Linked DNA regions of Homo sapiens: regions 1, 2 and 4 are each linked to region 3. Evidence: promoter capture Hi-C in human tissues and cell types (Jung and others, 2019). All regions are on one chromosome and are shown on one strand. The core of a region is centred on a gene start or on the middle of the fragment in contact, and the rest is flanking DNA. Distances in the headings are between cores, read along the strand shown. Region 1 overlaps PCGF5 (polycomb group ring finger 5). Region 2 overlaps XLOC_008559 (a long non-coding RNA gene). Region 3 holds the start of FGFBP3 (fibroblast growth factor binding protein 3). Region 4 has its middle 130 kb from the start of IDE.

Evidence for each region. Contacts are between HindIII fragments. The study calls those that stand out against the background at their distance.
Region 1: a fragment that was not itself captured here is called in contact with the fragment with the promoter of FGFBP3 in region 3 in 1 of the 25 tissues and cell types used here (dorsolateral prefrontal cortex).
Region 2: a fragment that was not itself captured here is called in contact with the fragment with the promoter of FGFBP3 in region 3 in 1 of the 25 tissues and cell types used here (lymphoblastoid cells).
Region 4: a fragment that was not itself captured here is called in contact with the fragment with the promoter of FGFBP3 in region 3 in 1 of the 25 tissues and cell types used here (dorsolateral prefrontal cortex).

What each region holds. Positions count from the first base shown.
Region 1 is chr10:91,282,461-91,285,550 of GRCh38, reverse strand. PCGF5 (polycomb group ring finger 5) reads right to left here. Exons shown (of 10, transcript NM_032373.5): 10 at 1,214-3,090. Among named protein-coding and RNA genes, the nearest start is that of PCGF5, 63 kb to the right of the region's middle. RefSeq lists an enhancer at 588-1,163. The HindIII fragment of the contact is 3,612 bases long and covers 1-3,090 here.
Region 2 is chr10:90,951,318-90,954,166 of GRCh38, reverse strand. The region is part of intron 3 of XLOC_008559 (a long non-coding RNA gene); the gene reads right to left. Among named protein-coding and RNA genes, the nearest start is that of XLOC_008559, 5.4 kb to the right of the region's middle. The HindIII fragment of the contact is 3,604 bases long and covers 1-2,849 here.
Region 3 is chr10:91,908,008-91,910,967 of GRCh38, reverse strand. It overlaps FGFBP3 (fibroblast growth factor binding protein 3), which reads left to right and starts at 1,482. Exons shown (of 2, transcript NM_152429.5): 1 at 1,482-1,570; 2 at 1,921-2,960. The coding sequence starts at 1,999. The coding sequence ends at 2,775. FGFBP3-AS1 (FGFBP3 antisense RNA 1) reads right to left here and starts at 2,839. Exons shown (of 2, transcript NR_199602.1): 1 at 2,719-2,839; 2 at 1,620-2,071. RefSeq lists an enhancer at 1,842-2,136 and a silencer at 2,040-2,609. The HindIII fragment of the contact is 15,807 bases long and covers 1-2,960 here.
Region 4 is chr10:92,441,455-92,444,696 of GRCh38, reverse strand. No RefSeq gene overlaps it. Among named protein-coding and RNA genes, the nearest start is that of IDE, 130 kb to the left of the region's middle. The HindIII fragment of the contact is 5,429 bases long and covers 1-3,242 here.

The sequences.
Region 1 (3,090 bases), core at 96-2,595, 630 kb after region 3:
ACAGGTCTTTTTAGGGAGGAGAGGCTTTTGTAGTGGAGGTGCTTCCTGAGGAGCAGTTGGGCTTTGAAGAGGGAGCAGGTTCTGTAGGGATGAGTGGGGCTTTGTAAGGAGGAGCAGGGCTTCTTAGAAGGAGAACTGTGTAAGGAAGGCTGGGCTCTGTAAAGAGGAACAGGGCTTTGCTGGTTTCTACTGGTAGTGATCGCTGCATATTTGTCCTCTCCAGGCATTATTCTCTATTTGATTGCTAGTGGCAAATCCTGGCACTGCAAAGTCCACGGCAAGGGTTGGGGTGCCAAGTGGGGTTGTACATGGCTTCCAGCAAAATACTACCTGCATGTTCCCCAGCCACACGAAGAGCAGAGTGACTCCCAAGCTTCTCATGCCTGGCCTGAGTGCAAGACCCCTCTTTCCCTTTCCAAACCAGTGAAAAGATAAGTGCTGAGCCTGTGTGGACAACACACTTCTAAGACCTAAAGCAACTGTGACCTCTTTTTGCAAATGTAGGGTATGGCAGACATTAGCAGGTCACAAAACTTTCCTCTTCCTCCTTGGGATGTGGCTTCACTAGGTCCTCCGGCCTTGCTTGCTGTTAGGTGAGGCCATGTGCTGGCCAGTGACATGTGATGAAAGCAATGTGTGCTACATGTTCCAGCACTTCCCATGCACAGTCCTCCACATTCTTTCCCATTCTGCAGCAGCCTTGAAGAGAGTGGAGCTCAAATACAGAAGGAAGCCAAATTCTGCTCAGAGGAAAGCTGCTTTCCCTATCTCACCGAAGGACTGGGGTTTCTAGCTACCTCCAACGTTTCACTAACATTAAGACAAAGCTTCAGGCATCAAAATCACAATGGGGCCGAGCTAGAAACCATCACAGTGTTCCTGACGTAAATGTCTTGCTTTGGCCTAATGAATTCCTGAGGCAAGTGCACATGGAAAGTATTAATAAACAAAGCTTAGCTATCTAACTGGCTGAAGGAAACAGTCTTTCTTTCAATTCACTTGGGCCTGCCTTTGATTCCTAATTACTTTCAAAACGTTCTTTTGGATTTGATTAATCTAACAAAACAAAAAATCCTTCAAGGGTGTGTGTGTATACACCTTAACTAGTATTTGAGGGACAGTGTGCCATTTTAAAATAAACAGCTGAAGAATCCTTAGAAAATATTTATGATCTCAAATACTCAATAAATTTCAATAAAATTTGCTACAGGACTAGTACTTAAAGGAGATATTTTTAATGAAGGCTGCAATCTACAGTGACTAATATTAAAGATGACAAACAATAATAAATTATGCAATTTAATTTTTAATAACAAAGATACTGTATTTTAACATGGTGAAATATACTTGGCTAAGTCCAGATTAAAAAAAAAAAGTATCTAGCCCAACAGTACAATTATACAGCTTTGTACAGAACATTCCATAGATCAACAGAAAATACATTTGAGCACAAAAATAAAAAATATTTAAGGAGAATCTCTAAGCAGCATTTTATTTCTGCAAAAGACATATCTTGTACTGATTAAATATCTACAAGTGCTTTTCCTTTACAAAAATACATATATTCTTAATAGACTAAGTCATTAACAATGACCTGGTAATTCTTTCACTTCAATTTGAATGATTTATAAGCTAAATCTTACAACCACAAAAAGGTTTTTATTTGTATTAAGATGTTACCACTTTTGACAAAAAGCTTAAAATATTTTATATTTCAAAGGAAAATTAGCAACATAACTTTACAATATATTCTATGATATTTTGATTGTGAGGGCTACTCTATTTAAAACTGATGATCTCTGTTGTGTTGCTCAGATGCAGGAAAGCAGCAGAACCCTGGTACTCCCCCAACAAGCTCCTGTCGTGGACCACAGCTTCATAAGGACACTTAGGCCCCCACCCCCATTCTAAAAAATACAACAAAAGAACACCAAACAATGCTAGGCTGATCCCATTACATTTTTAATGTGTAGAACTCCTGCTCCAGTGGACTGATGTGCAGAGGATGGATAAATAAATTTGTTGACTATCTCTCCATCACCCAGAAATATTTAATCTTCATTTGCACTAGATTAGTTTCTTATTCCATGAAGCTCCATAAGATGGAAGAAAACTAGACTCAGTATTTAACATATCTGTTTCACTTGATTCTAGATTTAAAATTATTAAAGTTAAAAATCTCTGAAAAATCAGTCTCAGTTTGGAATTATAGAAAAAGGGGCATAGCAAGTATACAGACACATTTGAATGAGCATTTAAAATAATTATTTTTAATTTTATAACTTTCTGAAAGGAAGTGCTCGAGCATTTTAATTTTATTTGAAAATATAAAGAAAGCAAGTAAACATTATTTATGAAAACTGTATTATACTAGGAAGAGAATTACTTAAATTATTGGAAAAACATCACTGCAATAAAAACTATTGAACACTGTATTGTACATTTAAGTACATTTGAATGAACTTTCAGTCTGATATTTTCTGTCAAAATGCTACTCAACTAGGTTTGTCAGGTAAATCCAGAACAGTTATTGTGTGCCTTGAAAGGGTTTGAGTCTCTGGTGTATTTAATATTTTTCACTTTTTCATAAACCAGATCTAGCAGACATGTTCCTTATTTCTACCCAAACTGTAGGAATATATATTACAAAATATTGATAATTGCATTTCAAGTTTTGTGTTTCTAATCCAGAAAATTAAAGTTATGGCAAACTCATTCATTTTTGAAGTTCCTACTACCAACCAATATCTTATTAGTATAAAGCTTAGCTTTCTGGAAAATTCCTTATGATAAACCAGAGTATGTAATAGAGTGTGCATCCATTTTCACCCTATCCAAGGAGTTTTACCTAGTGACCTATCAGAAAGACTCCATAAGATGAGTTTTACCTTTAAGGTAGCCCATAGCATGAGTTCCCAAGGAGAAATGGTACAAGGGGGATATGGAACTTCCTCTTGATGTACATGCTTGTTCTGTGACCCATTTTGTCAAAGTTGGCTGTATGGCTAAATTCTAATAACAATAAACTAAGTGCTGAGAAACAAGACCAAGAGTTGAATTTTTTTTGGAGATGGAGACTCGCTGTGTCAC
Region 2 (2,849 bases), core at 239-2,738, 960 kb after region 3:
GAGAAGAACATAAATGACCTGATGGAGCTGAAAAACACAGCACAAGAACTTCCTGAAGCATACACAAGTATCAATAGCTGAATTGATCAAGTGGAAGAAAGGATATCAGAGATTGAAGATCAACATAATGAAATAAAGCATGAAGACAAGCTAGAGAAAAAAGAGTGAAAGGGAACAAAGAAAGCCTCCAAGAAATATGGGACTATGTGAAAAGACCAAATCTACATTTGATTGGTGTACCTGAAAGTGACGAGGAGAATGGAACCAAGTGGGAAAACACTCTTCAGGATATTATCCAGGAGAACTTTCCCAACCTAGCAAGACAGGCCAACATTCAAATTCAGGAAATACAGAGAACACCACAAAGACACTCTGCAAGAAGAGCAACCCCAAGACATATAATCTTCAGATTCACTAAGGTTGAAATGAAGGAAAAAATGTTAAGGGCAGCCAGAGAGAAAGGTCGGGTTACCCACAAAGGGTAGCCCATCAGACTAACAGCAGATCTCTCTGCAGAAACTCTACAAGCCAGAAGAGAGTGAGGGCCAATATTCAACATTCTTGAAAAGAATTTTCAACCCAGAATTTCATATCCAGCCAAACTACACTTCATAAACGAAGGAGAAATAAAATTCTTTACAGACAAGCAAACGCTGAGGGATTTTTTCACCACCAGGCCTGCCTTACAAGAGCTCCTGAAGGAAGCATTAAATATGGAAAGGAAAACCTATTACTAGCCACTGCAAAAACATACCAAATTGTAAAGACCATCAACACTGTGAATAAACCGCATCAATTAATGGGCAAAATAACCAGCTAGCATCATAATGAAAGGATCAAATTCACACATAACATTAACCTTAAATGTAAACGGGCTAAATGCCCCCAATTAAACGACACAGACTGGCAAATTGGATAGAGTCAAGACCCTTCGGTGTGCTGTATTCAGGAGACCCATCTCACGTGCAAAGACACACATACACTCAAAATACAGAGAAGAAGGAATATTTACCAAGCAAATGCAAAGCCAAAAAAAAAAAAAAAAAAAAAAAAACAAGGGGTTGCAATCCTAGTCTCTGATAAAACAGGCTTTAAACCAACAAAGATCAAAAAATACAACAAAGGGCATTACAATGCAACAAGAAGAGCTAACTATCCTAAATATATATGCACCCAATACAGGAGCATCTGGATTCATAAGGCAAGTTCTTAGGGACCTACAAAGGGACTTAGACTCCCACACAATAATATTGGGAGACTTCAACACCCCACTGTCAATATTTGACAGATCAACAAGACAGAAAATTAACAAAGATATTCAAGACTTGAACTCAGCTCTGGACCAAGCAGACCTAATAGACATCTACAGAGCTCTCCACCCAAAATCAACAGAATATACATTCTTCTCAGCACCACATCACACTTATTCTAAAATTGACCACATAATTGGAAGTAAAACACGCCTCAGCAAATGCAAAAGAATGGAAATAATAACAAACAGTCTCTCAGACCACAGTGTAATCCAATTAGAACTCAGGATTAAGAAACCCAGTCAAAACTGCACAACTACATGGAAACTGAACAACCTGCTCCTGAATGACTACTAGGTAAATAACGAAATTAAGGCAGAAATAAATTAGTTTTTTGAAACCAATGAGAACAAAGACACAACGTACCAGAATCTCTGGGACACAGCTAAAGCAGTGTTTAGAGGGAAATTTGTAGCACTAAATGCCCACAGGAGAAAGTGGGAAAGATCTAAAATTGACACTCTAACATCACAATTAAAAGAACTAGATAAGCAAGAGCAAATAAATTCAAAAGCTAGCAGGAAACAAGAAATAACTAAGATCAGAGCAGAACTGAAGGAAACAGAGACACAAAAAACACTTCAAAAATTCAATGAATCCAGGAGCTGGTTTTTTGAAAAGATTAACAAAATAGACCACTAGCCAGACTAATAAGAAAAAAGAGAAGAATCAAATAGACACAATAAAAAATGATAAAGAGGGTATTACTACTGATCCAACAGAAATACAAATTACCATCAGAGAATATTATAAATGCCTCTATGCAAATAAGCTAGAAAATCTAGAAGAAATGGATAAATTTCTAGATACATACACCCTCCTAAGACTAAACCAGGAAGAAGTGGAATCCCTGAATAGACCAATAACAAGTTCTGAAATTGAGGCAGTAATTAATAGCCTACCAACCAAAAAAAGCCCAGGACCAGAGGGACTCACACCCGACTTCTACCAGCAGTACAAAGAGGAGCCGGTATCATTCCTTCTGAAACTATTCCAAATGATAGAAAAAGAAGGGCTCCTCCCTAATTCATTTTATGAGGCCAGCATCATGATACCAAAACCTGGCAGAGACACACACAAAAAAGAACATTTCAGGCCAATATCCCTGATGAACATTGATGCAAAAATCCTCCATAAAATACTGGCAAACTGAATCCAGCAGCAAATCAAAAAGCTTATCCACCACAATCAAGTTGGCTTCATTCCTAGGATGCAAGGCTGGTTCAACATATGCATATCAATAAACATAATCCATCACATAAACAGAACCAATGACAAAAACCACATGATTATTTCAATAGATGCAGAAAAGGCCTTCGATAAAATTCATCACCCCTTCATGCTAACAACTCTCAATAAACTAAGTTTTGATGGAACGTACCTCAAAATAGTAAGAGCTATTTATGACAAACCCACAGGCAATATCATACTTAATGGGCAAAAGCTGGAAGCATTCCCTTTGAAAACCAGCACAAGACAGGGATACCCTCTCTCACCACTCCTATTCAACACAATGTTGGAAGTTCTGGCCAGGGCAAT
Region 3 (2,960 bases), core at 233-2,732:
GGTCAGTTTTGTGTGATAGAATAAAAATATGTTACCTGCAGTGTAAGTATAGCACACTGTCAAATTCTTTTCCTTAAGGTGCACAGTAAATGTACAGATAGTTATAGGCCACTGTTTTTGCAATGTAGTACATTTCTAATCTATTATTCCTAACCTATTATAACTGTTTGCAGAGAGAAAATAATTGAATTTTTCTAATAATCTGTAAAATTATGCTAACTTCTACAAGTAGGCTTCTAAATAAAAATTTTAAAAAGAGCAAAAAAAAAAAAAAAGAAAGAAAAAACAGCTTTGCTTGGTCAGCACTTTGAGAGGCTGAGGCAGGTGGCTCATCTCAGGTCAGGAGTTCGATACCAGACTGGGCAACATGGTGAAACCCCTTCTCCACTAAAAATTAGCTGGGTGTTGTGGCAGGCACCTGTAATTCCAGCTACTGGGGAGGCTGAGGCAGGTGAATCGCTTGAACCGGGAAGGCAGAGGTTGCAGTGAGCCGAGATAGCACCACTGCGCTCCAGCCTGGGTGACAGAGTGAGCTCCCGTCTCAAAACAAACAAACAAACAAACAAACAAACAAACCCCCGCACACACACACAATCCCCCCCTCCAGAAAAAGCAGCTTTGCTTAAATGTAACATTTTCAAGATTCAAGAACACATTCATTCTCTCTCTCTTTTTTTTTTTTTTTGAGAGGCAGTCTCGCCCTGTCCCGGGTTCAAGTGATTCTCCTGCCTCAGCCTCCTGAGTAGCTGGGATTACAGGCATCTGCCACCACGCCTGGCTAATTTTTGTATTTTTAGTAGAGACGGGATTTCACCAGGCCAGGCTGGTCTCACATTCTTAACTATTATACCATTTCAATTGGTAATCTTACCGTTCAACTACTATAATACAAATAATTTTTTTAAACTTCTAATTTTTGGAGGACCCTTATAACTGATTTCTAATACCTAAAAATAATAAAAAGCCCAAATGTCCACTCCTGGGTGAACTGCTGGGCACTATTGTATGTTAATAAACTAGGATATTATATTTTTATTAGTAGTAACAATTATTAAGATTGAGAGTCTTAAGAAAGGCTATTGGAAATAATAGGTAAAAATGTAGAACTCAGAATATGAGAAATAGAATGTAAATGATATAATTGTGTAAAAAATGCCTAGTTTAGAATACTGAAGTTTGTTTTGTTTCATTTTATTTAACTTTTAAAACTTAGATCTTTTGTTTAATTTTTATTTTTTGGATGGTTAAGTACATGAAAGAAGAAAAACTTGGTTAATTTTGCCTGATTATTTTAAACATTGGAAGCAAAATACAAGATTTGTATTTCATACTACAGGACCGCTTCCATCATCCATCTGGAGAGACAGAGAGAGAGAGGGAGAGAGAGAGAGAAGCGCGGCGGTGATAAGTCTCCCAGTGTGAGAGAAATCGGGGAGGGGCGAAGAAGGGTAGGCCTCTTCTGTTCCATTGATACCACGTTCATTCACAGGGAGCCGGCTAAAACAGACTACTCCCCCGTGCAGTCGTTCCCTCTACCCTAATAAGGCTTTGGCGCCTCTCCCAGAACTCGGTAAGTTCAAAGTGTAGTAAAGTGCATGTTTCCAAGGAATCATCTGAAATGATTTTGTAGATAGTTTATTGCAGGTTGGAGAAGGGAGAAAATGAAGGAAGGGGTAGAGGGGGCAATTATCACGCATCGTTTTGCTATCGTATTTGCAAGGGGAAGAAAATCTCAATGCATACATGGTTCGAAAGTGATTATTTAGACAGTAAGCAGTTTCCCCAGGAAAGCTCCTCAGAGGGTCTCCTCGCAGGCTGCAGATTCTAGAAAGTCTGCGGAAGAGTAGTTCGCAGGTGCATGTGTCTGGGCGAAGCGCTGCGTGTGGCTCAGTTGGTGGCAGTCTCTGCCTCTGTCCGCAGGTCCTGGGGAATGCTCTTTGCCTGGTCCAGCCCCGACAAACGTGGTCTGAGAACAGCGGAGCGCGGAAACCGCGGAGCATGACTCCTCCGAAGCTGCGAGCGTCGCTGTCGCCGTCGCTGCTGCTGCTGCTGAGTGGTTGCCTCCTCGCGGCTGCTCGGAGGGAGAAAGGGGCGGCTAGCAACGTGGCGGAGCCGGTCCCCGGGCCCACTGGCGGCTCCTCGGGTCGCTTCCTCAGCCCCGAGCAGCACGCGTGCAGCTGGCAGCTCCTGCTGCCCGCCCCGGAGGCCGCAGCGGGCAGCGAGCTGGCGCTGCGCTGCCAGAGCCCGGACGGGGCGCGCCACCAGTGCGCCTACCGCGGGCATCCGGAGCGCTGCGCAGCCTACGCCGCTCGCCGCGCGCACTTCTGGAAGCAGGTGCTGGGAGGGCTGCGCAAGAAGCGGAGGCCCTGTCACGACCCCGCGCCGCTCCAGGCCCGCTTGTGCGCGGGCAAGAAGGGCCACGGCGCCGAGCTGCGGCTAGTGCCCCGCGCGTCCCCGCCCGCACGCCCCACCGTCGCGGGATTCGCGGGGGAGTCCAAGCCCCGGGCCCGGAACCGGGGGCGGACCCGGGAGCGTGCGTCCGGCCCAGCCGCTGGGACCCCGCCTCCCCAAAGCGCACCGCCCAAAGAAAACCCCTCAGAGAGGAAGACCAACGAGGGCAAGAGGAAGGCGGCCTTGGTCCCCAACGAGGAGCGACCCATGGGGACCGGGCCCGACCCCGACGGGCTGGACGGGAACGCGGAGCTCACGGAGACCTACTGCGCTGAGAAGTGGCACTCCCTCTGCAACTTCTTTGTCAATTTCTGGAACGGCTGAGACTGCCTGCCGGCTTAGGGAGGGTTGATGGGGGAGGCGTGGGGAAGGGAAAGCTAAGGGCGTCTTAGACCGGGGGGTACTGTGATAGAGATTGGGGAGAAGTCCAGGTTCTCGAATGGGGGTGGGGGCAAGGGTAAGGGTGAGATGCTTGGGATGAGAGTGTAAGGGGTATGGAGAATCTCTGG
Region 4 (3,242 bases), core at 703-3,202, 530 kb before region 3:
TAAAGAAGATATAGGCAGCGGTCAATATGCCTATGAAAAAATCCTCAAGGTCATTGACTATCAGGGAAATGCAAAGTAAAGCCACAATGAAAGGCAAAACTATAATGAGAGAAGATCAGTGATTGCCTGGAATCTGGAACCAGGACATAGGATGAAAGGAGTTGAGGAAACTTTACAATGGAAATGTTCTTTTTTGTTTGTTTGTTTTGTTTTTTGTTTTTTGAGACAGAGTTTCACTCTTGTTGCCGAGGCTGGAGTGCAATGGTGCGATCTCGGCTCACCGCAACCTTAGCCTCCCGGGTTCAAGTGATTCTCCTGCCACAGCCTCCCGAGTAGCTGGGATTACAGGCATGCACCACCATGCCTGGCTAATTTTGTATTTTTAGTAGAGACGGGGTTTCTCCATGTTGGTCAGGCTGGTCTGGAACTCCTGACTTCAGGTGATCCACCCGCCTTGGCCTCCCAAAGTGCTGGGATTACATGCGTAAGCCACCGCGCCCAGACAGAAATGTTCTGTAGCAACTAAAAAGCTGGGGAAAAGTTGTTTGATATAAATTGATTATTTTACTATTTATTTTCTATTTTTTAAATCTGTTTTTATTGTTTTTAAATGTTTTCTTTTGGTTTGAGTTTTTTTACATGATTTTATTTTGTCTCCTTTGCTGGTGAAAAAAGTATTTTTTAAAAAACAAAATGAGATACCATTCCATGCAGACTGGCATAGCTAAAATTAGATGTACTGATAATGCCAAGTGAAAGCTTCTACCACATATTTAGAAAAATAGTTTTCAAAGTTTCTATTTCTGCTGTAGAGTAGACACACTTGTTCTTTTTCCTTTTTTTTTTTGGCGGGGGTACGGAGTCTCACTCTGTCGCCCAGGCTGGAGTGCAGTGGTGCGATCTCGGCTCACTGCAAGCTCTGCCTCCCGGGTTCACGCCATTCTCCTGCCTCCGCCTCCCGAGTAGCTGAGACTACAGGCGCCCGCCACCACGCACGGCTAATTTTTTTTGTATTTTTAGTAGAGACGGCGTTTCATCGTGTTAGCCAGGATGGTCTCGATCTCCTGACCTCGTGATCCGCCCGTCTCGGCCTCCCAAAGTGCTGGGATTTCAGGCATGAGCCACCGCGCCCAGCCTCTTTCCTTTTCTTTCTGTTTTTTTTTGTATTTTTTAGAGCTGGGGTCTCATTCCAGGCTGGAGTGCAGTAGCACCATCGTAGCTCATTGACAGCCTCGGACTCCCAGGCTCAGGCAATCCCCCTGCCTCAGCCTCCGAGTAGCTGGGACTACAGGTGCACGCCACCACACCTGGCTAATTTTTTAATTTTTTGTGGAGACAGGAATATCGCCATTTTGCCCAGGCTGGTCTCAAACTCTCCTGGGCTCAAGCAATCGTCCCTCCCTGGCCTCCCAAAGTGCTGGGATTACATGCATGAGTCACAGTGCCCAGCCACACTTGTTCTTTATTGTAGCAAAAGATATTTTGGGAAGTGTTTCAGAGGAATCTTTCCACAACTATAAGGTAGGGTGAGTTAGAAATATAAAATTACCCCGGGTTCATTGGCTGCCGCCTGTAATCCTAGCACTTTGGGAGGCCAAGGCAGGCAGATCACCTGAGGTCAGGAGTTCGAGACCAGCCTGGCCAACATGGTGAAACCCCGTCTCTACTAAAAATACAAAAGTTAGCCAGGCATGGTGGTGTGCGCCTGTAGTCCCAACTACTCGGGAGGCTGAGACAGGAGAATTGCTTGAATCTGGGAGGCGGCTGTTGCAGTGAGCCAAGATTGCACCACTGCACTCCAGCCTGAGCGACAGAGTGAGACTCCGTCTCAAGAAAAAAAAATTAAGATGTAATTATGAGAACACTGCTTCTGTCTCCTAGTCTTTGTGGGAGGATAGAATCCTAACTTCCATAATTGCCGGCTTGGTGTGGCCGGGCATGGTGGCTTATGCCTGTAATCCCAGCACTTTGGGAGGCCAAGGCGGAGGGGATTGCTTGAGCTCAGGAGTTCAAGACCAGCCTGGGCAACGTGGCAAGACCCTGTCTCTACTAAAAATACAAAAAATTAGCCAGACAATCCTCCCACCTCAGCCTCCAGCTACTCAGAAGGCTGAGGTGGGAAGATCACTTGAGCCTAGGGGTACAGTGAGCCAAGATCATGCCACTATACTCCAGCCTGGGTGACAGAGTGACACACTGTCTCAAAACAAACAAAAAACATAATTCCCAGCTTGCAGACACAGTCTATTCACATTTACACCGACCAACCCTTTGTAATGTTTCACTTGCGTTCCCTGTCGCTCCCCCTTCCTACACCCTCATTCTCCCTTTAAAACACCCAGGCACCTTGTATAAATTAGAATGGAGTTCAGCTGTTTCCACTACTGTCAATAGTTACTGAATAACATCAGTTGTCACCACTTCAATTAAAGTCCAGCTTTGTTTATCTTTGATAGCCTGGGTTAAATTTATAGGAGGCCATTATTTTGGACTGAGCTCCTACACTAAGCCCCAGCAGACCAAACCAAAATGGAATCACTCATGCTAAAGTGCCAGACAATCAAATTGAAACTTTTTTTTTTTTTTGAGACGGAGTTTCGCTCTTGTTGCCGCAATCTCGGCTCACAGCAACCTCTGCCTCCCGGGTTCAAGCGATTCTCCTGCCTCAGCCTCCCAAGTAGCTGGGATTACAGGCATGAATCACCACACCTGGCTAATTTTATATTTTTAGTAGAGACGGGGTTTCTCCACGTTAGTCAGGCTGGTCTCAAACTCCCGACCTCAGGTGATCCGCTTGCCTCGGCCTCCCAAAGTGTTGGGATTACAGGCGTGAGCCACCACACCCAACCTAAACTTTTTTCTTTTTTTTTTTTTTTTTGAGACAGAATCTCTCTCTGTCACCCGGGCTGGAGTGCAGTGGTGCAATCTCAACTTGCTGCAGCCTCTGTCTCCCGGATTCAAGCAATTCTCCTGCCTCAGCCTCCCAAATAGCTGGGACTACAGGTGTGCACCACCACACCCAGCTAATTTTTTGTATTTTTAGTAGAGATGGGGTTTTGCCTTGTTGCCCAGGCTGGTCTCAAACTCCTGAGCTCAGGCAATCTGCCCACCTCAGCCTCTCAAAAGTGCTAGGATTACAGGGGTAAGCCACCACGCCCAGCCTCCAACTGAAACTTTAAGGAAGCAGGAAAACCCCAAGTAGACCATTTTTCCTAAAAACATGTGATTGCAGCAACCAATCA